3 separate regions of the Homo sapiens genome follow, and regions 1 and 2 are each linked to region 3. Evidence: promoter capture Hi-C in 16 types of primary human blood cells and fetal thymus (Javierre and others, 2016). All regions are on one chromosome and are shown on one strand. Each heading gives the region's core, a stretch centred on a gene start or on the middle of the fragment in contact. The rest is flanking DNA. Distances are from core to core; before and after follow the strand shown.

Region 1 (4,223 bases), core at 109-2,608, 2.0 Mb before region 3:
TTTCTACATTTTGATTCCCTTTGTATAAATGGAGAAATTCTAAGGTTCTTGGGAAAGGTATTCAGTCATGAAGCAGTCTCCAAAGTTGTATTTTGGCCTTACCTAACCAAATTTTCATTCATTTCATTCTTATTGACATTACATATACTATAACATTTGATGTTCACAGAAAATTAACTTCTATTTTAAGAAGTTTACTCACAGAACCACAGTTTGTGCATTTAACAATCACTATGAAATACATATGAAACATTAACCATCATTTTAGAGAACAATTTAAAAACTCCGAAGTAACTACTTTCCTTAACTTTGTCATCCCAACATTCTGGGTATAGGCATTGTTGGAAAAATATAATTAAAAACCAAAATCTCCCAACCCAGAAATCCTCTCCACAAACGTTAGTAGACAAAACACTTTTATTACTGAATAAGCATTAAACGAGACTGTGATACACATCACAGGCAATTTGCTAAGAGATTGCAAAGACAGAAATCTTGCCCTTTTGTATAGCCAAGTATATACGACCCATTACATACACGTTTTCAAGTTGAACAATAACTAGTCCTCAAGTAAGAGGACCTGACATTTGTGACATTAACTTTACTTAATAATTGGGGTGACCATCTGTGTTAGTTAATTGGTTTTATCCAGAGGAAAAACAAACTTCTCCTGTCTTTATGACGGAAGGTAGTTTTGCAACACGGAGCAAGTTGCTCACCGAAGTTACGCTCCTACTCTCTCACAGAAACTGGGAGATAGGGAAGGATGCTACTCCGTTGATATGTGCAGCATTTCAAAAAAAAAAAAAAAAAAAAGGTCCAGAGACATTCCTGACTGAGCATACAGTTGACAAGACCTATCTAGTCCTCAAGTGGATTTATACACATTTCAAAGAGTTGAGAAAGTACTTAACAATTAAGAAAGTACTTAAGTTTTCTAAGACAAATGCTCGGAGAGAAAGGGACGGGAAATCTCATCCTCCATTTTCAATAGGGAGAATTAAGCCTCTTATTTAAAATTTTTATGTTGGTTTTTGTTTATTTAGCTTTAAAACAGTAGACTTAAAAAAAGTCCAACTTAAGATTTATGTTTTTTTATGTGTAGGGCTGTTCTCTACGGTTAAATAAATAACCCTGCTTAGAGAAAATATTCACCACTCTTCTTTGGCTCCTATGTAACTCAGTTTTTGAGAGGGAGGGGAAATACCGGATTGACGCTATGTGGTTCAACCAATGCAAAAGATAACACCGCCTTAAAAAGTCTACTACAGGAACATGGGAGGGTCACACCCTCGAATAATGACGCATACCTATCCTACTGTTACTGATCACCTAGTAATAATCTTGTAGTTCACATTACTCATTTTTCACCAAATTCTTTTGGTGAAGGACGCTTCAGAAACGGCCATCACTGAAGAGCAGACCCGTTTGGGTTCTCCACGCATTCTAGACTCCCGAAGAGGTAAGAATTTATTATAGGGGGCCACTCCCAGGACCTGCTGTATGCTTTTAAACATCCATTACAATTCCAGCATTGAGTTTCTAACATTTTTAGGCAGGCTCAGGCACTGGGAGTACAGGATTGAAAGACAGTTCCCGTCCTTAAGGGACTCAGAGTAAACTGGAGTTGCTGAAAACCATTCTAAAGCAATCCACGTTAATAACAGATACAAGTAAAACGTGGGAACGTACAGGAAAAAGTGACCAATTCTGAGGCTGAAAAGTGCCTATTTTAGGGGTGGGGGCCTCGCGGCCCTAAAGCAGCTTCCCTTCCCGGAGATTTCAGCTCCAGGGATCGCCCAGCGCCCTCCGGGCACACTTAACATTTTAATCACGCCTCCGCCCCCACTCTCCGAATTCCTTTCCGGCTGCCGACCCGCCGAGTAGTCCCTTCCAGGCGGCCTCAGCTTATCATCGCCGGTCCGGCCACTTCCCGGCCGCGGCCAGGCGAGCCTCCCAAAGTTTCCTGTGAGGCCTTCGTCCGTCTCCGGCCCCATCTCACCACGGCAGCCCAGGACACCCGCTAGGGAGGAGCAGGTTACCGAGGCGGGGAGAGCGGCACAAACGCGCAGACCTCGGGACTCCACCCGGGCTGGTGAGCGAGCCCAGAAAGCGGCGACCGCAGCTCCGCGTCTCCACTCCCAGGGCCCGCAGCTTGGGCTAAGCGTGCGCCCACCCAGCCTAGGGCCCAAGTCCTGCCCCTTCGGGGACCGGGCCAATCGGCCGCTCCCCGCCTCCTGGGAGGTAGTGGAGGAGGGGGCTGAGGGCCGGGCGGCTGCGCCCGCCTTCCGCTCTTGCCCATTGGCTGAGGCCTCGAGGGTGCCCGGAGACCGGAGTGCAGCGGGATTGGTTGCAGAGGTTCGTGACAGTGGCGCCTATTGGCTGTGGCAGCCCCCGTGACGCGGGGTGGTGACTGGCTCCGGAGTCTGAGGGGTTCGGGCTTGTCAGGTTCTAGGTAGGTGCGTTTCGCGCCGCCGGCGGTAGGCGCTGTTGCCCGGGGCAACGCGGGGGGAGGGGGGAAGAGGAGGGAAGGCAAGCCTAGAGCGGGGGCAACAATGCCTGCCCGCAGAGGGGCGCCCGGGATTCGGCCAGGGCGTTGGGGGCTGTGCCGAGGCTCTTCCTCCGCCCTCAGCCAGCGCCCCCCCCAACCCCCGTCCCTGGCTGCAGGGTCATCCGCTCATCCTCCCGCCCGCAGCAGAGCATTCCTGGTTGGGGCTTGGGCCGGGCTACACACCCAGCCCCACGAGGGCCGCCCCTCCCACCATCCCGGGACCCGAAGGCTGAGGGGGCGGGTGCCGGCGCGAAAGGGCTGTGGCGGGCGTAGTGGCTCCGCCCCGTCGCGGGGTCTGGGGGCTGATGGGCGTGAGGCGGGGTGGTGGGGGGACTGTGGGCACCACCCAATCTTGCCTGTACCCTCACCCCTTTTCTCGGCGGCACTCATCTGGGCGCCGCCGTCCCGCTACGGGGGCATTCTCAACCCCTGGTATTCCCCCCATCCCTTCCTGCTTCTGGAGCCCCGCAGTCTCCCTTGACCCGCTCGGTCCTCCCCAGCTCTCCTCCTATCTGTCACCTTCTCCCGCTTTTATCCCCCACCTCATCTTTCTCCTCCGGTCTTGGCCAGAGGTGTCCTCCAAGAGTCTAATCAAGAGATAGATCTTAAGTGTGAAGCTAGTGGTGTCGTCGGTAATTTCTGCTCTGTGGTCTCTTTGCCAGTTAGAATTGGGGAGATGTTTGGAGGCACCTTCAGGGGTCATCCTTCTGCCTTACAGTTACCCCTAGGATCTACTTTCTGAATACGCTCATTGGGTTGTGTTGGTAGGGGCAAGGTACTTCTTAAACAAATTGAGGATTGTACTATGAGGTGGGCACTTTGTACGTTTGCGATTTTGCCATCCACTGTAGTGCAATTCAAAATCTAATAATTTGTTACGGCTGGTAGCCTTACATTTTTTTCCTTCGCCTTATGGTTAAAAAAAGAGCAGCTTTTTAACCTTTTTAATTCAGAAGTTGCGTATATTAATGGTTGTCTCACTATCACTTTGACATAAACTGCTGTAAAGGTGTACTCCATTTTCCTTTTCTCCAGATATGTTAAGATAATAAATTTCTCAGATGAGGTTACCATATATAAAAGTGTAGTGGAACATCAATAAGAGAATAGATCAAAACTATTTTAGTGATTAAAGATTAGAAAATACTTTTCAATTCATATGTGGAATGAGAATAGGATAAAAAAAAAAAACTATTGCAAAATCTTTAGTGCAGTATTTGTAGTCCTGGTATATATACCTGTGTTGCCCTTAAGAAGACATTTGTGAGTAGCTCCAGGTTTGTCAGTCGGGAAAGCAGAGTGTATCTTTTTGTAGTCCAGGAAAGCTTTTCTGCTAGTACTTTTGAGCCAAGAGAATTATGCTTCCAAAGATGCTGGGAATATATTAAGAGAGTACATAGGCATACTTCTGTTTTCATCTTTGAAAGACCTTTAGTGAAGATCTGTTTCTCTTCTGCATTGATTGTTGACAGCATTAAATATACATAATCTAAAACTATGTAGTGTCAAGTTGTTGCAGCTTCTGCACTGCTTCAAAGGTTGATGTCTTTAGTTCAGAAGAAATAATTCAAGCTTTGGTAGACAAATCATTTACATTTCATCTTCGATGTAGATGTTACTGTAACTCTGGACCGTGAACATTTCAAATTTGCCAGTTTTTTCTCAACTATTT
Region 2 (4,431 bases), core at 1-2,500, 1.3 Mb before region 3:
CCCATTTCTACAAAAATACAAAAAAGTTAGCCAGGCTTGGTGGCGTGTACCTGTAATCCCAGCTACTCAGGGGGCTGAGGCAGAAGAATCACTTGAACCCAGGAGGCGGAGGCTGTAGTGAGCTGAGATGGTGCCACTGCCCTCCAGCCTGGGCAACAGAGCAAGACTCCATCTCAAAAACAACAACAACAACAACAACAACAACAAAAACCTCTCAGCAATCCAAGAATAGAATGGGAACATCCTCAATATGATAAAAGGCCACTTGTCTTAGTCCATTAGGACTCCTATAACAAGCTCCCATAGACTGAAGTGGCTTATAAACAACAGAAATTTATTTCTCGGCTGGGCGCGGTGGCTCACACCTGTAATTCCAGCACTTTGGGAGGCCAAGGCAGGTGGATTACCTGAGGTAAGGAGTTTGAGACCAGCCTGGCCAACATGGTAAAACCCCGTCTCTACTAAAAATACAAAAATTAGCCAGGCATGGTGACATACGCCTGTAATCCCAGCTACTCGGGAGGCTGAGGCAGAATTGCTTGAGCCTGGGAGACCGAGGTTGCAGCGAGCTGAGACTGCCACTGCACTCCAGCCTAGCCGACAGAGCAAGACTCTGTCAAAAAAAAATAGAAATAAAAATAAAAGAAATTTATTTTTCACAGTTCTGGAGGCTGGGAAGTCCAAAATCAAGGTGCTGGTAGATTCAGCGTTTGGTGAGAGCCACTTCCTGGTTCACAGACTGCAGTTTTTTCACTGTGTTCTCATACGGCATAAGGGGATAGGAGCTCTCTGGGACCTCTTTTATAAGCACACGAATCCATTAATGAAGGCAGAAGCTTCATGACCTAATCACCTCCTTGAGATCCCCCTCACAATGGGGATTATGTTTCAATGCTATGAATTTTGGAAGGGACATAAGCATTCAAGCTATAGCACCACTCTATCACACTCAATAATGAAAGATTCAAAGCTTTCTTCTTAAGATCAGGAACAGAGAAGGATATCTGCTTTCACCACTGCTATTCAACATCATAATGGAGGTCTTAGCCAGTCTAAGAAGAAGAAAAGGTGGAAGGAGTTACATATAAATTCAAAAATAATAAAACTGATCTATATTTGCAAATAACATGATTGTCTACATAGGACAATTCCAGAGAATCTACAAAAAATTTACTCAAATGAATGAATTTAGCAAGGTTGCAAGCATCAAGGTCCATATGCAAAAACCAACTGTATTTTTACATATAGCAGTGAATAACTGGAAACTAAAATTTAAGAAAATTATCACTTATAATGGTATCAATTATTAAATACTTAGATATAAATCCAACAAAATGAGCAACATCTTCATGCTGCAACTACAAAATGCTGACAAAGGAAATGAAAGAAGACCTACATAAATGGAGACAACCTGTATTCATGAATTGGAAGACTCAAGATGTCGATTCTTCCTAAATTGATCTATGCATTCGACACAAACCAAATTAAAATCCCTTCAGGTCTTTTTGTAGAAACCAACACGCAGCCTCTAAAAGCTTTACGGTAAAGTTAGAATAGCCAAGGCAATTTTGAAAAAGAATAAAGTTCAAGGATTCATATTACCTAATTTCAATACTTATAAGTAAAAATAACCATGATAACTCAGTACTGGCAAAATTATAGGCATAAAGATCAAGAGAAAAGTACAGGAACAGATTTACATATATGATCAACTGACTTTTGACAAAGTTAATTCAATGGGGAAAGGAAAGTAGTCCCAACAAATGGTGCTAGAACTACATATACATTTGAAAAGAAAATGAGCCTTGACCCTTACTACACACCATATACAAAAACTAACCCAAAATGGATAATGTGCCTTGACATGAAAGCCAAAACTAGAAAACTTATAGAAAAATCCTAAGAGTAAATCTGCACAACTTTGCATTAAGCAAAGAGTTCTTAGAACACAGAAGCACAAATCATAAGAAAAAGTTGGTAAGATGAATTTATCAAAATTAAAAGCTCTTCTTTTAAAGTTAGGAAAATAAAAAAAAAACAAGCTTCAGATTGCAGTGTGTGTGTGTGTTTATGTATCTCTGTGTGTCAAATGAGTTGTATAAAGAATGTATTAAAAAATGCTTACAACTCAATAAGACAAACCCATTTTTTTTTTTTTTTTTTTTTGAGACGGAGTCTCGCTCTGTCGCCCAGGCTGGAGTGCAGTGGCACGATCTTGGCTCACTGCGAGCTCCACCTCCCGGGTTCACGCCATTATCCTAACTCAGCCGGAGTAGCTGGCACTACAGGTATCCGCCACCACGCCCGGCTAATTTTTTGTATTTTTAGTAGAGATGGGGCTTCACCGTGTTAGCCAGGATGGTCTGGATCTCCTGACCTCGTGATCCGCCTGCCTCGGACTCCCAAAGTGCTGGGATTACAGGCGTGAGCCACCGCGCCAGGCCCACCCATTGTTGTTTGTTTGTTTTTTAATGAGCAAAAAATGTCAACAGATACTTCACAAAGGAAGACATACACTAGAGCAAATTCTCAGCACCATTAGTCATCTGGTAAATGCAAATCAAAATCCCAGTATGATACTACTATATACCCACTAAAAGGGCTAAAATTTAAAAGACTGAAATAACCAAGTGCTGAGGATGATGTGGAGCAATTGGAACTGTCATACACTGCTGATGGATATGTAAAATGTGACAACCACTCTGGAAAACAGTTTGGCAGTTTCTTATAAACATCCATGTATCATACAACCCAACAAGTTCCATGTCTAGGTATTTACCAAGAAAAAAAAGATGTTCACAAAAATTCAAAATAAATGAATGTTCATTGAATAAAGGAATGTTCAACAAATGAAGGCTATTTATTAATAACAGCCCCAAACTGGAAACAATCCAAGTATCTGTAAATAGGTGGAATGGTCAACAAACTAGTAAATCAATACCAAGGACTTCTATTCAGCAATAAAATGAGAACCCGTTAAATACAGAAAAACATGGATAATCCTGAAAAACATGCCAAGAGAAAAAGCCAGATACAAAAGAGTATGTATTACATCATTCCACTTACATGAAATTCTAGACAAAATGATACCAATTTATAGCAAGAAAAAGATGATAAGTGCTTTCCTAGTCCTGAGGGTGAAATTGTGATTGACTGCAAAAGGGAACTTTGGGGGAGATGAAAATATTCTATATCTTAATTGTGGTATGAAAATATTCCACTCTTGACTGTGGTGGTGGTCACAGAGCACATATTTGTCAAAACAAAATACACTGTACATTTCAAATAAGTACATTTTACTGTATCTAAGTTATCCTCAATAAGGTTGATTTTCTAAGAGGGTGCTCTCTCAGGAAAATATAAACCAGGGAATACTGGTGATGCCCACATATACCCACCTCAAAAGATGTCAAAAAAATATATATAAGAAAACTCATTTATGGTTTTTAAAAATGTCAAAAACAACAACATAAGCATCTTGGAAAGCCAAGACTAGAAGGAAATATTTTAATATCAGCGGCTTTACCAGAAAGCTTCACCAAACATCATAATTAATGCTAAAACATTAGAAGCATTCCCCCTTAAAGTCAGAAACAATGCCATGTTTGTTGTTAGCTATCAGTGCTATTAGTTTTTAATCTACCAGTGCTCAACATTTTATAAGATGTATAATTGCAAAAGCAATGAGAAAAACACATAAGTTATAAAAACTGAAAAGGAAACCACAAAACTGTGAATATCTCCTGATAATCAACTCAATAAAATAATCTGATACATGATAGAAAACTCAAAAGTTTTGCTATAACCAGAGAAAACAGAGAGAGAGAAATGTTACTGAAAGTTTCCATCCACCACACGAATCAAACCATAAAATAGGAATACCAGGAAGGAATGTTATACGTATGAAGAAAAAAAAGAAAAACTATAAAAATTTCCCTAACAGTATAAAACAAGATGTGAATAAAATGGAGAGGCCACATTTCTGAGGAGAGAGACTCAATACTATAAAGATCAGTTGTCTCCAAATTAATCTAAAATTTCAATATAACCTTATTCAAAATAGCTAAGGATTTTTAGTTCAGTCTAAAGTTTACCTAGAAGAAGAAATGCATAAGAAACATTCAAGAATATTTTCAACAAGAGTAATAAAGAGGGAGAAAGGGTTACCAAAATTTAAAATATGCATAATCTTTTAACTGAGCAACTTCACTTCTAGGAACCCATGCTCCAGAAATAATCACACATAGAGGAAGTTTACTGAATTGTTAACAGTGGCTGACAATCAAGATGCAAGCAGGACTAGAAGTGGAAGCGGTAATTTTTACCTTACATTCTTCCATACTGTTTAATTTTTTAAAATCAAGGATGAATTAAAATTTGTAATTAAACATCGATCAATAAATTAGAAAGTTATTTTCATTATAAATCATC
Region 3 (3,965 bases), core at 820-3,319:
CACTCCCTCACTTCATTCAGTTCTCTGCTCAAAGGTCACTTCTTCAGAGAGGACTTCCTTATTCTAAAAAAAAAAAAAAAAAGCTTCCTTTATTGCTCACTTAGGCTTTTTTAATACAATCATGTCATTATTTGACATTGCACTATATTTGACAGGATATATTTATCTGTTCTTTGTCTCCCTAAACTAGAATGTCAGTTCTAACAATGCAAGCACCTTGTCTGGCTTATTTATCATTCTATCCTTATTGCTTAAAATAGTATCTGACACGAGATAGGTGCTTAATAAATATATTTTTGTTAAACAACTGTATGGATATACACTTTAAATAATAAATTATTAATCAATAATAATTATTTGATATTTGCATTCCTGCTTATTTTTTTCCTATTATGAGCAAGCATGCCATAAACATATGTATGTTATCCATGCCAGAAACATGTAAAAAACCCCTATATTTGTTTTCTAAGATTTTGGAGTCAAAAAATATGGTTATTTTTACAGTTTTTGATACATAGTGCCAAACTGCTCTCCATCAGAAAGTTATGTTTTATATCACTTCAGAAATTAATGAAAGCTACTTTCTTCTCACCTGGAAAGACAATGTGCATTTTCCCTTTTAAACACCTTAATACGTGAAAGATAATTAAGATTTACCTTTTTTCAATTAGTAAAGGACTTTTTATATGATATTATCTATTTACACTTCCTTTTTTTGTATGAATTGCCTCTACATGTCCTTTGCTCATATTTCTGATTTGCCTTTATTCATTGGTATGAACTCTTTGTACATTAAAGCTACTGTTCCATTGTTTAAACCATGTTAAAATGTCATTTTTCTGTTTGTGATTTGCCTTTCAATTGTGATTACTATATATTTTAAAATTTACTATATGGACATTTAAATTTTATACAGTCAAGAGACTCAACACCTTTGCCCAAGCTGCATCGCAATCAAATTTAAGAATGTCAATTCGTTATTTAAAAATGTTAATTATACATTTTAATGTACGCTATCAAAATATCTCATGTAACCCATAAATATATACACCTACTATACACCCATAAAAAATAAAAAGTGATAAAACCACAGAAAAAAATGTCAGTTCAATCAAAACAAAGTTGATTATCACTCTCAATCAAGGTTCGCATCTGGAAGATCGAGAACTGCACGTCAGAGTTCTCTTGGAAAAGCTCTAGGAATCCTGGGCTTCCAACGAGTTGAAGGAACATAGGATGAAACCATGGAAGTCTTCCTCAGATCTGGGGAGGGAGCCTGGCCCAAGAGCCCGTGGAGCTAATGAAAACAGGTAGTAGGGGACGCTCTACAGTAGTCCTCTCAGTTATTCAATTAGAGGTCCCAATTTTGAACGATATAACTGGGATTTCAATACCCTGAGTGATTTAGACACATCAGAAAAAAATACGACAGAAAACTATAGTTTCTTTACAGCCTTAGAAAAGGAAAACGCGTAATTTCTAACTCCAGGAGGACAGTATTCGAGTACGTGGGTTTCTTTCACCCCCGACGTGCACTTCAACTTTTAAAATGCTTGCTCTGGTGGTCCACAGTACTTTCGCGTTCACTGGGCGGTACCATATCTCTCAATAGATTTGATCCAAAACCCCAAGTGCGGGAGACAAAGCTAGGTGGAACGTTATTAACCCTCCACAACTCCAACCTCTACTAGCTTCCTCGGAGCAGGCGAGGCACCAGGCCCGTGAGAAAACACTGAGATCTGGGGCGTAGCTGTGACATGGGGTATTTCTGGCCGGGATCTCACCGGGTAGGCTCCACCCGCGGGTTATCGGCTCCCTCCAAGAAGCATCTTTGAACTCCTCCCATGCAGGCCCTATTCCTACACCAGTTCTCTTTCTGGAATCTCTTTGGTACTGTGTTTCATTAATCCCACAACCATATTCCCACCTATTCCCTAACGACAACAAACTTTTAAGGTCCAGGTTACCGCCGCGTCTCCCTAGCAACCGTGCCCTTTAATGGTTGCCGGAAGAGGCTATAATCACGTGCTCCGAAGACTTCCGGGTTTCCAACGTGACTTCCGGTTGTCAGAATTTACCCCTGACGCGGCGGCGGCCGACGGGAAGCTGTGTGTGCTTAGGTCGTGGTGGCCCCGGTGGTGGTGGGCTCCGGGCGGGCTCGCGTCATCCTGCCCCCGCTGCGATGCATCCGCGGCGCCCGGACGGATTTGATGGCTTGGGCTACCGGGGTGGTGCCCGGGACGAGCAGGGCTTTGGCGGCGCCTTCCCTGCAAGGTCCTTCAGCACCGGGTCGGACCTGGGCCACTGGGTGACGACTCCCCCAGATATCCCCGGCAGCCGCAACCTGCACTGGGGCGAGAAGAGCCCGCCCTACGGCGTGCCCACCACCTCCACCCCGTACGAAGGCCCCACGGAGGAACCCTTTTCCAGTGGCGGCGGCGGCAGTGTGCAGGGGCAGAGCAGTGGTGAGAAGCATGGGGACCGACACAGGGATGAGGGGTTACTGGGGCCGCGGCTTGCGGCCTGCAGACCCCGGAAGCGGCGCAGAGGATCCCGCCTCCTATTCCTTCTCATCCTATCGCGCGCCACACCCTTTGCCCTCCTTTGGTCCTCTGCCCCTGAGGCTGGCCTCCTCTTCCTCACAAACGAATTCTCCTGGATCAACTCCAAAAAAGACATCTGCCTTAGCTATGGGGTGCATAGCAGGAATTTTTAGAGGTTTTGGTGTCTCAACTGATGGTCTGAGTTAAAAAGGAGATTGGATTATTAACTGTTCCCTGATTCACTTTGGCAGCTCTATTTTCTTGATTTAATTAATTAATTAATGTGTTTACTTGTAGTTTTGTGTTCTGAAAAGAGAAGCCTTTCAGCATAAGCATACTTGGGTTCAAACTTGGTTGTGCCACTCGTAATCTGAACAACTTAACCTCTGTGAGCCCTCAGTTTTCTCATCTTTAAGATGTGTAGAAGAATCCTGTATGGGACACATAGGCTAAAAAAAAAAAGTTTCCTTCCTTTTCCTTTTTGAACACAGGAGTTTTGTCTGCTTTTCAGATCCCCAGTCTAGAAAGTTTCCTTCCTATAATTTTCCTTTCTGCTTTCCTTCTGCTGACCTAAAAACTACATATAAAAGTTAGAAACACTGATACAATTTCAAGATAGGACTTCGGAATCATGACATAATTATTCTCCATGGGATGTCAGAAAAGCTGCAACACTGCATGATGTAGATATTTTCAACATCCTTTTTTATTCATAAAATGTGAATAATGGCTACCTCTTTCTATTCTTCTGGAATTGTTAGAATAATAGATTAATGGTATTAATATTAAATTTATTGTAGAAATCAGCTTTATTCTTATTTCCTCGACTTTGACTTGGAAGTACAATAATATTTAACTAAGAAGAACAGACTAACGAATGTCTAGTGAGTAAATGAGGATGTGAAGAAAGATAGATGACTTACCTAGCTAATTGTCATACAATTAGCTTTTTGACTCTTCCCGGTTTAAAGTTATGCTTTGGTGGTTACAATGAGGAGGAGTTCCTTGACACAAGCAGGGGTTTATTTTGCAGCCTTAACAGGTGGGTGAATGTTAATTTTGCAACAAAGATAGACACCTAAGAGACTTACACAGTAAACAAGATTAAACCTTCCTAACACCTTCCAGAAAATGCTAGTAGCATTTTCTGTTGCTATTTGGGGATGATCTATACATACAAAATGGGTAAGGCCGGGCGTGGTGGCTCACGCCTGTAATCCTAGCACTTTGGGAGGCCAAGGCGGGCGGATCACGAGGTCAGGAGATCGAGACCATCCTGGCTAACACGATGAAACCCCGTCTCCACTAAAAAATAGAAAAAATTAGCCGGGCGTGGTGGCGGATGCCTGTAGTCCCAGCTACTCGGGAGGCTGAGGCAGGAGAATGGCGTGAACCCGGGAGGCGGAGCTTGCAGTGAGCCGA

Evidence for each region. The method cuts DNA at HindIII sites, captures the fragments that hold promoters and counts their contacts. A CHiCAGO score of 5 or more calls a contact.
Region 1: the fragment with the promoter of FER here is called in contact with the fragment with the promoter of SLC25A46 in region 3 in 7 of 17 cell types (total CD4 T cells, fetal thymus, activated CD4 T cells and 4 more); the score reaches 9.7 in total CD4 T cells.
Region 2: a fragment that was not itself captured here is called in contact with the fragment with the promoter of SLC25A46 in region 3 in 1 of 17 cell types (fetal thymus); the score reaches 5.4 in fetal thymus.

Annotation. Positions count from the first base shown.
Region 1 is chr5:108,746,539-108,750,761 of GRCh38, forward strand. FER (FER tyrosine kinase) reads left to right here and starts at 1,359. Exons shown (of 20, transcript NM_005246.4): 1 at 1,359-1,462. RefSeq lists silencers at 2,126-2,225, 2,306-2,365, 2,496-2,905. The HindIII fragment of the contact is 11,506 bases long and covers 1-3,874 here.
Region 2 is chr5:109,403,896-109,408,326 of GRCh38, forward strand. The region is part of intron 1 of PJA2 (praja ring finger ubiquitin ligase 2); the gene reads right to left. Among named protein-coding and RNA genes, the nearest start is that of PJA2, 3.9 kb to the right of the region's middle. The HindIII fragment of the contact is 565 bases long and covers 969-1,533 here.
Region 3 is chr5:110,736,938-110,740,902 of GRCh38, forward strand. It overlaps SLC25A46 (solute carrier family 25 member 46), which reads left to right and starts at 2,070. Exons shown (of 8, transcript NM_138773.4): 1 at 2,070-2,465. The coding sequence starts at 2,183. It also overlaps a transcript of TMEM232 not described here. RefSeq lists enhancers at 1,653-1,702, 1,953-2,082, 2,093-2,162, 3,407-3,908, 3,909-3,965. The HindIII fragment of the contact is 3,989 bases long and covers 82-3,965 here.